Linked DNA regions of Homo sapiens: regions 1, 3 and 4 are each linked to region 2. Evidence: promoter capture Hi-C in 16 types of primary human blood cells and fetal thymus (Javierre and others, 2016). All regions are on one chromosome and are shown on one strand. Each heading gives the region's core, a stretch centred on a gene start or on the middle of the fragment in contact. The rest is flanking DNA. Distances are from core to core; before and after follow the strand shown.

Region 1 (2,700 bases), core at 99-2,598, 130 kb after region 2:
GGGCCATGAAATTAGCCAGTGTTCTCACCTTTCTGATCAGGGCAGGGTGATGGGTTTGCAGGAGTATGTGGCTGCCATCCCTCCTTCTTAGGAAGAAAATGGATCATGGGTCAGTTTAATTTCTTAGGTCTTTGGAAAAAGGTTACGAATAATGAAGCTGGGATGTATTGTCCTAGACAAGGGTAAACTGCAGTAGTTAAAAGTTTTAAGTAAGGTTAGCTCCTTTTTGGAGCTGAATCTGCATGGGACTAGAAATCTATATTGTGCCTATTATTTTTATTCTTATTTTCCGACCTGATAAAATGAGTTATTTATTCATATGACCTTGGGCAATGACATAAACTTCTTCGATTTCAGTTTTTTCCATTTTCTACCAGAAATGATTACATCTGGCTTACCTGTCTCATGAGATTGCAGTGAGAATCAAATGAAATGTTGTAAATTGTAAAAGCCTCTGACAAGTTCAAGGTAGATGCTATTATTAATCATTGGTAATGATGATGAGTAGAATATTCCCAGATAGCATCATCAGACAGTGCTACACTCTGTAGGTGTGTTAGGCTAGGACATGATGAGTGATGCCAATTAATGCCAGTGATTTGTTCTCTCATGTAAAGCTAGCCAAGTTATTTTACTGTCTGCCTTTACTTGTAGAAAGTGTGCTCTCACAGATGTTGGTAAGACTAAGGTGTTCTGATTTCACAAGATGCAGGTAATCCATAGAATCAGTCAGGAAGAATGTCCCTAGTATTTTTATGTGCTACAGTGATAAATTATACCAAGACCCGTTTGTCAACAGCATTTCCAGAAATAAGAGAAAGTGTCATCAAAAATGAAGGACAAGTCGTGACTAAAGAAGCATCTTCCCTATTTGTTTGAACAGTCAAGCTTGCTTTAAATCGTATCCAAGTTGTGTAGTAAACTTGCCTGCAGAGAGTAAGCCACACAGATGCCCACAACGTCACTGAGAGGCACGTGACCCAGTTTCTGTGGTCTGAGCTGAAAGATAACCCGGGTGTGTGATGGCCACACCTGCCTGTAAAACATTATATGGTGGGCACTTTTTCAAATTCACATTTTTAAAGAGGGAATTAGATGGTTTTCATTTGTTTTGCTTAGGTTTTGTGGTGTAATTTTTTTCTCCAGAGGTCATCTCAGCAGCATCTCCATAAATAATTATCAAGGGATTGGGAGATAGTTTTGCACTCACTGTCTTAGAATACAAATCTTCCCATACAAAGCCATATAGATTTGTCCAGGGAAGATAGGAAATAATTGATTGTGTCATTGTTCTCTTGGCCTGACTTTGCTCCGGTGGCTATGGCACACGGGGTGATAGATTAACTCTTTCAGGTGTATGGAAAGCATGTTCAATGAATCACAACTTCAGCACACAGAGTATTTTGATGGTATTTGGAAAGAAGCAAATATTCTCTCTTTTTTTTTGCGGGGGGGAAAGTGTCTGATGACACCATCCATACTTTTTAGAAAAGACTGGAGTGTGGGTCATTTTCATATCTGTAAGGCTTTGAAAAAAAACTTATGGTAAAGAAACAGATCATTCATGCTAGGGAAAGAAAGCTATCACAGACAAGCTATAATCCACATATCCACTGAGTGCCAGAAAAGAGAAAATGAGATCAATCAGGGTTACATCTGGGGATTTACATCCAGACAATGATGACTGCTTCCGAAGGGAGGAGGAAGGGGTTCCACCATGGGTAGAGTTCTAGTTGTTTGGAATGGCGTCCTCATGAACCCACCTGAAGTGTTGATTCCTTATCCACATATTTTTTGATAAAGCTTCATTGTGGTACTATTTTTAACCATCACTTTGACTAAATGCGAGGGTTCATTTGTGTTAAGTGGGTGAGCAGTTGACAGAGTAGACCTTTTGTAACCTGCTAAGGAGGGAACAAGGTCATCAAGACGCTAAGCATTCAAGAACCATGGTCTTCTACTATCACCTTTGCTTTTGTGTCATTTTTTTTTTCTCAAACGTGATGTGTAAATCAACTGCAACAGAATTACCTGAAGAGCTTGTTTAAATACAGATTCCTGGATCCAATTCCAGGTCTGTTGAATCAGAATATCTATGGCAAAACCAAGAATGGATTTTTTTTTTTTTTTTTTGAGACAGAGTTTCACTTTTGTCGCCCAGGCTGCAATGGCACGATCGTGCAAAGGCACAATCTCGGCTCACTGCAACCTCCGCCTCCCGGGTTCAAGTGATTCTCCTGCCTCAGCTTCTAGAGTAGCTAGGATTACAGGCGCCCGCCACCACGCCCGGCTAATTTTTCATTTTTAGTAGAGACGGGGCTTCACCATGTTGGCCAGGCTGGTCTCAAACTCCTGACCCCAGGTAATCCGCCTGCCTCGGCCTCCCAAAGTACTGGGATTACAGGCGTGAGCCACCATGCCCGGCCTTACCACAAGTGATTCTGATTTGAGAACCACTCTCCTAATGCTGGGTAGAGGAGTGGTTCTCAAAGTGTGTTCCTGGACCTGTAGCATCAGCATCACCTCGGGAGCTTCTTAGAAATGCAAATTCTTGGGCCCTGCCCCAGACCTATTGAATCAGAAACTCTGGGAGTGGGGGCCAGCTATCTGTTTTAGCAAGCCTGCTAGGTGATGTTGATGCTCACCAAAATCTGAGAAGCACTGGGGTAGAGTACATCAGTTCCCTTCAGTATCTCTTTA
Region 2 (2,700 bases), core at 104-2,603:
GCTTGAATGAAATGACTGAGAGAGTAACCTATGTGAATATCTGAAGGAAGAGCATCCTACAGAAATGAAAAACAAGTGCAAAGGCCCTGAGCTTGATGTGTCTCAGAAAGAGTAAAAAAAAAGGCTAGTAGGGCTGGAACAGAGAGAACAAGGAGTGGTGGTAGAGAAGATCACAGAGGAAACTCCACCTAGGCCCTGATAGACGTCGTGGCTTTTCTCTGAAGAAGGTAGATCAGTTAGGCAGCTAGTGTAATGAATAAGGTGAGGAATGATATGGGATGTCAGTAGAGGGGATGAGAATTGGTTGGCTATTGGACATATTTAAAAGCTGAATTGACAGGATTTACTGACAGATTGGAATGTAGAGTGTGAGAGATTGGGTGTGAGTGTGATGAAATAATTGTGTTAAAGTGCAAGTTAGCTAATAGGGAAGGCGGGGGTGTGTGGGAAAGCCTTCAAAGTCCTCCTCAGGCCTGGTTCTAGTGTATACAGACCATTTGACCTTGAGGTTAAGTCAATAGGAGTCGCAAAATAACTGACTACTAAGAATAGGATGAAATCAGCGGTGACCCCTCTGCCCAAGTGGGTCTTGTTCCGAGAGGCTGCCAAGCTAAATAGTGGTTGTGGGAAAAGAACAAATATCTTTTCTAATGATTGATTTCCAGTTAAGGAGAGGAATGGAAAGTAAAGGGGTAAGGACAGACGTTCATCAAGTCTTAGGAAGTTTCAGGGCTGGGAGTATATTGCAGGACCAAGCCTTAGTTTTTCCCTGTCTTTCCATTTTTTTTTCTCTTTCCTTTTTTCCTCATTTCCCCACTCCCTCCTTGGTCCAGGTTCTCGCCTGCAGAAAGGTATAGTTTACCTCTAGTTCTCAAACTTCAGCGGGCATCAGAATTCCCTGGAGGGTTTGTGCAAACACAGATTGCTGGGCTCCACTCCCACAGATTCTAAGTGTGTGTGTGTCTGTGTGTGTGTAGAGGGGTGGTGGACGAAAGCGCTGAGATTTTGTATTTCTAACAGGCTCCCAGGTAATGCTTGGGAAGAACTGTTGCTTCTTGGACAGCAACACTTACAAGGCAACGTGATCTTGAGCTCCACCTCGAAGGATGTGAGCTGGGAAAGTTCCAGCTCACAGAGATTTAGTCACTTGAGAAATGGTCCACTTCCTCCAAGGTGTTTCTTGGATGCCCCAAAGGGATGAAAACAAGAAGTGACCGTGGGCGAGGAGGAGGAGCTGGCCGACCTCCTCGGTTGCCAGCCCGTCGGAGCTCACCAGCTAGGCGAGGGCGGGAAGACAGCCCCCGGGCCGGCCCACGGATCATCAGAAGGCGCGGACCTGGAGGAGGCGCCCCAGAAGGCGACGCCTCTTGCCTCCTGTCTCTCGCCTCTCGAAGGAAGTTTGCTCTTAATTTCAGAGCCGGGTTCGCCGTCGGATCAACCTCCAGGAGCTAGCAGCGGGCGCGGACCGGGCAGTTTCCGCGCTCAGCACAGGCAGCTCGCGGTCATGGGCGGCTCAGCCTCCAGCCAGCTGGACGAGGGCAAGTGCGCTTACATCCGAGGTACGCCCGCCCGCCCGGGGGCCTGGGGAGCACCCTGACCCGTGCACCAGGCTGGCTGCCGCGGTCGGGGCCCCAAGGGGCGCGCCCCGGGCCCTCTCCCTGTAGCGCGCGGGGATCCCCGACCGCAGCCCGCCCGCGCGAGTCGGGTTTCCTGCCCCAGCCGGCGCGCTCCGGCGCGGGTGTGGACCGGGGACCGGGAGGGCTTGGGAGCGAGGCAGGTGCAGGATGCGGGTGGGGACGCCGGCGCCTTCGCCGCTCCCGCCGCCTCGGGGTCAGTGCCGCCCCCGCCCGGCGCACTTCGCCCTCCAGTACCTGCCCTGGACTGAGTTCTGAGCGGTTTCTGAACTGGCCGCCAAGAGAGCAGCGGGGATATCCCGCGTTTCTAGAGATACCCCTGGGGATTCCCGGCAGCTAAAGCAGAATTTCCCTCTTAGTAATGTTGGCCTGGCTTTGGAAAGCGCGGCGTTGGCCGCAGCTTCGCTCGCACTTCATCCTAGCACTTGCAGGATGATTTCATCAGCGGCAAAAAGGACAATGTCATGCCGTTCCCTTCCCGCCCCGGAGAGGGGCGAAGCAAAAGAGGAACACTGGCGTGCTTTGTAACTGCCCGAAAGTTACAGATGGGGAGAAACTCATTTAGGGAGACCCTCAGAGATGTGGGGACTCAGTAGAGAGCGTGAGGCTGCAAAACAAACAAAACAAAACCCAAACCGAACTGAAACTGCAGGAAGTCCTGACTCGTTATCTCCTTTATTTCCTGGGCGTATTTGGCCTCCCCTCTTCTCACCCCCCACCCCAAACTTGCCTTCAACCGCTACCTAACATTTGGTTATCTTACCAATTTACTGTCTTTCCCCCGCCCCGCCGCCAGATCCCCCACCCTCGGCTTCAGAAATATCTTCCAGACTATGTATTAAACTCTAGGTTTATTTGGCCCTTGAATCCTTTCCTAAGAGGAAATCATTTATTTGGTGTTCTTATTCCACATTTGTTTTCAGTCACCACAACATTTAAGACCGTTTTAAAAAGATATCAAATCAGGGTACGTGAAGAGCAACGGAGCTGATTTTACAGATTCCTGCTCTGGTGCTTTTGGAGGTAAAAGATCCTCAACAACCTGTACTGTCAGGGGATAACACTT
Region 3 (2,700 bases), core at 80-2,579, 200 kb before region 2:
ATGCCCAGCTAATTTTTTGTATTTTTAGTAGAGATGATGTTTCACTGTGTTAGCCAGGATGGTCTCGATCTCCTGACCTCGTGATCCGCCCACCTCGGCCTCCCAAAGTGCTGGGATTACAGGTGTGAGGCACCAGGCCTGGCCACAGTCCACAGTCTTAATACCTAAAAGCAGGTAGGCTTAACCATCCCTGTTTATCAGTGGTCTCTACATTTCAGAATTTCTGAAGTTCTAAAATTCCAAGGTTCCACAGTTCTGAAAGTTCTCTTGAAGATAAGTAACTTTATTTGACATAGAAACAAAATTATAGAGATTAGGTTCTCAAAGTAGTCCATAAATGGCAATTACATTACATAATTTTAAAGCAAAATAGATGTGCCAAGCTTTCTAGCCTAGATCCCTGCTCATGTAGCTCCCTCTGCCTAAAATATCCCGGCTTCTCCCATTCTACCTCACTTCACCTCCACTTAAGTAACTTCGACTCATTCTTTAGGTCTGTTTAAATGTTACTCCCTCCAGCCTCCAGTAAATCTTTTTTTTTTTTTTTTTTTTTTTTTTTTGGAGACAAGGTCTCTTTCTGTCACCTAGGTTGGAGTGCAGTTACATGATCAGCTCACCATAACCTTGAGCTCCTGGGCTCAAGTGATCCTCCCACCTCAGTCACCTGAATAGCTGGGACCACAGACTCACGCCACCACACCCAGCTAATTTTTATGTTTTTGTTGAGACCCGTCTCGGTATGTTGCCCAGGCTGGTCTTGAATTCCTGGCCTCAGACAATCTGCCTGCCTGGGCCTCCCAAAACACTGGGATTACAGGCGTGAGCCATTGTATCCAGTCCCCTCCAGTATACCTTTCTAAACTAATTCTTTCATGATGTACCAAAGCTATATTAATCCCCTGCTGTGTATTCTCTTATTAAGTGATAGGTATTATACTTTTCCTATTTAAGGAAATTGCTTGTGTCTCTCTTCACTTGAATAAGTCCCTGAAAACAAACTGTGTTATCTCTTACAAGCTATTTTATTGTGGTGCCTGGTACACGGTGACACTGAAAAAAATAAACTGTTTAAAGACTATTCAGAATATTGTCCCGAGTGTTCTCCAGCATACAATGCTTTTTTCAAAGGACTATCTATAACTGCTTCTCACCACATTTTTACACATTCCTTTCTATTATGAATCCTTGATACCTGCCAAAATATCTTCCTAAAAAAGTTGGAATTAAAGAGAGTAAAATAAAGAAACCAACACATATCTTCATGAATAAATTTGAATCAGCCATCTATGATTATCATCAGTAATAGAAACAACTAAAAAGGCCATGTGCAGTGGCTCACGTCTGTAATCCCTGCACTTTGGGAGGCTGAGCAGGGGCGAACTGCTTCAGCCCAGGAGTTCAAGACCAGCCTAAGCAACATGGTGAAACCTCATCTCTGCAAAAAACACCAAAGTTAGCCCAGTGCGGTGATGTGTGCCTATAGTCCCAGCTACTAGGGAGGCTGAGGCAGGAGGATTGCTTGAACCCAGGAGGTCAAGGCTGCAGTGAGCCAGGATCGTGCCACTGCATGCACTCCAGCTTGGGCAACGGAGTGAGACCCTGTCTCAAAAACAAAAAACAAACAACAACAAAAAAAAAAAAAAACAGAAAAAAATATAGAAATACAGAAAAAACTTAACTATATTAATAAACTCTCAGTTAAAACCTATATTCTTCATTTTTTACTACCTTACCTGGGTTAGGTTTTCCCTAGAATGTGAATCATTACTTTCTTGATGGTCATAATGATGTTTTCGTTTCCACTCATGAACAGTCCGCTTATATGTAAAATCTGAAAGTAAATGTTCAGTTTTCTGCCTAGTCACATTTAATGAAACCTGGGAGCTTTCCAGGTATTCTCTTTCTTCCTGCTTAGTCTTCGAATTATTAGAATCTATGTTGAAGACATTTTCTTCTACAAGTTTCTGGAGGGTGTCACGGGATTTTATAGGGATTTTGAAACTGATCTTCTGTCTTCTAGATCCCAAGGGTTCCTTAATTATCTTGTTGGAGTTATAATCCTGAGAAAATTGATTTCTCTTCCATTTCTCTAAGACACATTTTTCAGAATTGTCTCTAAATTTACTGTTTCTTCCTTTCTTGAGTTCTTTCATCTTCTCTCTCTGAACAAGTAAATGAGACCATTTATTTTCACTTGCCTGGCCTTCGGCTTTAGGTTTCACATCACTGGCAATCTTAGGACTACTAAGGCTTTTAATTCCATGGTCAAGCTTGCTCCCAGCATTTGTCAATTTGATATCTTTAGGTTTAAAGTCTACACATTTATGTATGTCTTTTTTAGTTCCATTTGAAGAAGGACTCTGCAAAATAATTTGATTATCATTTGAATATGATGCTTCTTTGAGTTTAATAGGTCTTTGGGATGAAGAACCGATTTTTGGTCTCCTTCTGAGAGTGTCAATTTCTACACTCAATCTGTAAAACAGCACAGAAACCTAGGTTACATTATAATTATACATAATGTTGCACTCTATCATTTTAGTTAGAATAACAGAATTGGGCTGACATTAAGCTTCATAAAAAGTAGAAATAGCTACATTAAGAATGAAGTGGAAAGGATTACTCACTTAATGGTGTTAGAATAATTAGTTTGCTATTTGGAAAAAAAAATTACAACTTTAAATAGTAACAAACAACATA
Region 4 (2,700 bases), core at 11-2,510, 210 kb after region 2:
ATCTCTAGCAATGGATGAAAAATAGTACATTTTGTGCACAATGAAACTATACTTGCCTCATCATCTAGTGCCAAGAAAAATATGGTGATCTTCAAGAAAGCCGTGTATCTAACACCACTCTCTCAAAGTTTTAAGTATAATCATGTATTTGAAGGTTGTATACTGATTTTAAAGTATCACAAAGAGATTGATCTGCAAATAAACCAAGAACTCTTTATTCTACTTCTCATCCATCACAAACCTTTACTACCCCCACTTATTACCTAAAAGCCCTACCTGTAAAAAATCAAGCAAAAAACAATCCCAACCAAAAAAACTCCAAACTTATCAATACATTTGGAGAAGAAACAGAAATAAGCACTGTTTTCATAGAACTTTAAGCTGGAGGCCAGGAAATATTTAATTTCAAATATTTAAGGACTGTCAGCATTTACCTCTGAGGTTAAGAAATGCTGGGGATTGACAAATTTGGACCACTCTGAGGATTACAAGAACAGGAAGAAAGGGTGAAAAGACAGTACTACAAGTATGTGTATACAAATACATACATGTGCAATATATGTATATTGTATATGTGTATATATTTATATATACTCATATACAAAACATATATGTATATGTATGCAAAGGGAGCTCCTAGGAAGAACACAGGGTTTGGATAACAATTCTAGGAAGAATGTCGGATTTGGATAATGAGAAATGATAGGATCATTACAGAAATAACTTATTTTTAATTCTTAAGTGTCCTAATGTTGGGGATTACTCTACCTAATGCTTTTTGACAAGATCAACTGGGCACCTTTCACTTTGATCCTTAATTTCATAATTAGATAACCAGTAAAACTATCTTTCTAAATCCCTTGGAGGTTGGAGGTAAGATGAGCTTTTACAAAAACAAAGTAAAACTGAAGAAAGTCACACAAACAAAAAAGCTGCAAAGATTTTCTGACAACTTTATTCCAGAACGTTTATAACTTCAAATGTCTTACAAATGAAGCCATTATTAATTTTAAGAGGACAGAAAAGTACCTTGTGTTTTTGTGCGTATTTACTCTAATACAGGGATGAGGCGCTATAGCTCATACAAACTGTGCCTGAATTCAACAGTCTCTGGAGTTGCTGGCCTAAAGAGGGCTACATTTTTGGATGGGGAGCCTGCAATGGCAGCACGAAGTAAGCAAGCAAAGGAAGTAGACAAGATTCAGGGCTGGGGCCAGGCATGGTGGCTCATACCTGTAATCCTAGCACTTTGGGAGGCGGAAGTGGGAGGATCGCTTGAGTCCAGGATCTCAAGACCAACCTGGGCAACATGGTGAGACCCTGTCTCTCTTTCTCTCTGTTTTTAAAAAAATAATAATTAAAAAAGAAAAAAAGATTCAGGGCTGAAAATAAAACCAGAGCCATGGGTGCTGTTGGAGCAGCTGCACTCACCCTTGAATCCTACTCTCAACAATGGCGATGTTTTCTCTTTACCTCATAATCATGATATGGATACCTACTATTTATTGAGTTCCTTCAAACTGTACTAAATATTTTACACACACCATCTCATTATCTTCACAACATCCCTAAAAGGAAGGCATAACAATTAAACCATTTAATCTTTCTAAAAATGCTGTGAGGTAGGTATTATTCTTATTCTCATTTTACAAATGAGGAAACAAAAGCACAGAGATTTAGTCATTTGCTTAAGGAAGCCCAGCCAATAATCAGCAGAGCTGTCTCAGAGCCATTGTTCTTGGCCTGAATGGTACCTGTGCAACTGTTGTTGAATGGTGCTCACCTAAATCCTGTGGCCACACTGTACCAATAAGTGGGAACTATGCTGATGGTGAAATGGGGATTTAAGAGAGGGAACAAACACAAAATGTACTCCCTCGAAGAGCCATGTGACTTGGTTTTGCTTCTGATACTTGAAGTAAATGGAAAATGGCCACTAAATAAGTGACCCAACCAAATAATCATGACACATGAGCAAACTTTCTTGCCTGAGAGAGTTGGAGCTAGTGCCAGTGAGAGAAATGGGATAATAATCTGAAGGTGAAGTGATTTTGAAGATCTCAAATCAAGATGGAGAGGTGGAAAAAGCCCTGGGGACATCTTTTGGGGAGGTGAATCATCTGAATCTCTCATTCTCTTTCTTAGAATTTGAAAAAATCAGTCCGACAGCCACGCAGGAAGTCAGTTGACGACATTCACCGAGTATCTTTGTCATGAGGTGCTCTTTCTAAGGCCTCAAAGTCACTAATTGTGAATGCAGAATAATTACTGTCTTTATTTAATGTTTGCAAGATTGGGTTCTCTAGAAGAAAACTGTTGTCAATTCTGCATGCTATCAAAGAATAGGAAAAGCAATTTGAAGAATGACAAAATCACCACTCCCAAATTCCATACTAGTTTCAGGAGTAATTAGAACTGTAGTACTAAAGAATTCAAATCATTTAGGGGCAACTGCTGTTCTATGACCAGTTTTGCACAGCTGGTCCCAGCTTCCTAGGACTATTTCTGAGCCATAATATTAAAATGGAGCCCCTCCCTGTGTTTTTGAATCCATATGGTTCTACCCAGGGCTCCTATCCCTCCCTAACTTCTGACACATCCAAGCAGGAAAGTGAGCATGCATATTTACATAAGCTACAAGGCTGTGCAAACAGATTGTTAACTGGTTAAAGGGCATTTTAGAAATGGCTGTTATTTCTT

Evidence for each region. The method cuts DNA at HindIII sites, captures the fragments that hold promoters and counts their contacts. A CHiCAGO score of 5 or more calls a contact.
Region 1: a fragment that was not itself captured here is called in contact with the fragment with the promoter of NIBAN1 in region 2 in 8 of 17 cell types (total CD8 T cells, neutrophils, naive CD8 T cells and 5 more); the score reaches 13.3 in total CD8 T cells.
Region 3: a contact is called between a fragment that was not itself captured here and the fragment with the promoter of NIBAN1 in region 2, in 2 of 17 cell types (megakaryocytes and erythroblasts). The highest score is 7.4, in megakaryocytes.
Region 4: a contact is called between a fragment that was not itself captured here and the fragment with the promoter of NIBAN1 in region 2, in 6 of 17 cell types (neutrophils, monocytes, megakaryocytes and 3 more). The highest score is 13.9, in neutrophils.

What each region holds. Positions count from the first base shown.
Region 1 is chr1:184,842,198-184,844,897 of GRCh38, reverse strand. The region is part of intron 5 of NIBAN1 (niban apoptosis regulator 1); the gene reads left to right. Among named protein-coding and RNA genes, the nearest start is that of EDEM3, 89 kb to the right of the region's middle. RefSeq lists a silencer at 955-1,044. The HindIII fragment of the contact is 915 bases long and covers 891-1,805 here.
Region 2 is chr1:184,973,161-184,975,860 of GRCh38, reverse strand. NIBAN1 (niban apoptosis regulator 1) reads left to right here and starts at 1,353. Exons shown (of 14, transcript NM_052966.4): 1 at 1,353-1,559. The coding sequence starts at 1,505. RefSeq lists a silencer at 1,569-1,888 and an enhancer at 1,999-2,168. The HindIII fragment of the contact is 8,420 bases long and covers 1-2,700 here.
Region 3 is chr1:185,174,147-185,176,846 of GRCh38, reverse strand. SWT1 (SWT1 RNA endoribonuclease homolog) reads right to left here. Exons shown (of 19, transcript NM_017673.7): 5 at 1,734-2,475. Among named protein-coding and RNA genes, the nearest start is that of SWT1, 18 kb to the right of the region's middle. The HindIII fragment of the contact is 1,887 bases long and covers 386-2,272 here.
Region 4 is chr1:184,759,239-184,761,938 of GRCh38, reverse strand. All of the region lies in intron 2 of LOC105371649 (a long non-coding RNA gene), which reads right to left. Among named protein-coding and RNA genes, the nearest start is that of EDEM3, 5.7 kb to the right of the region's middle. The HindIII fragment of the contact is 8,455 bases long and covers 1-2,700 here.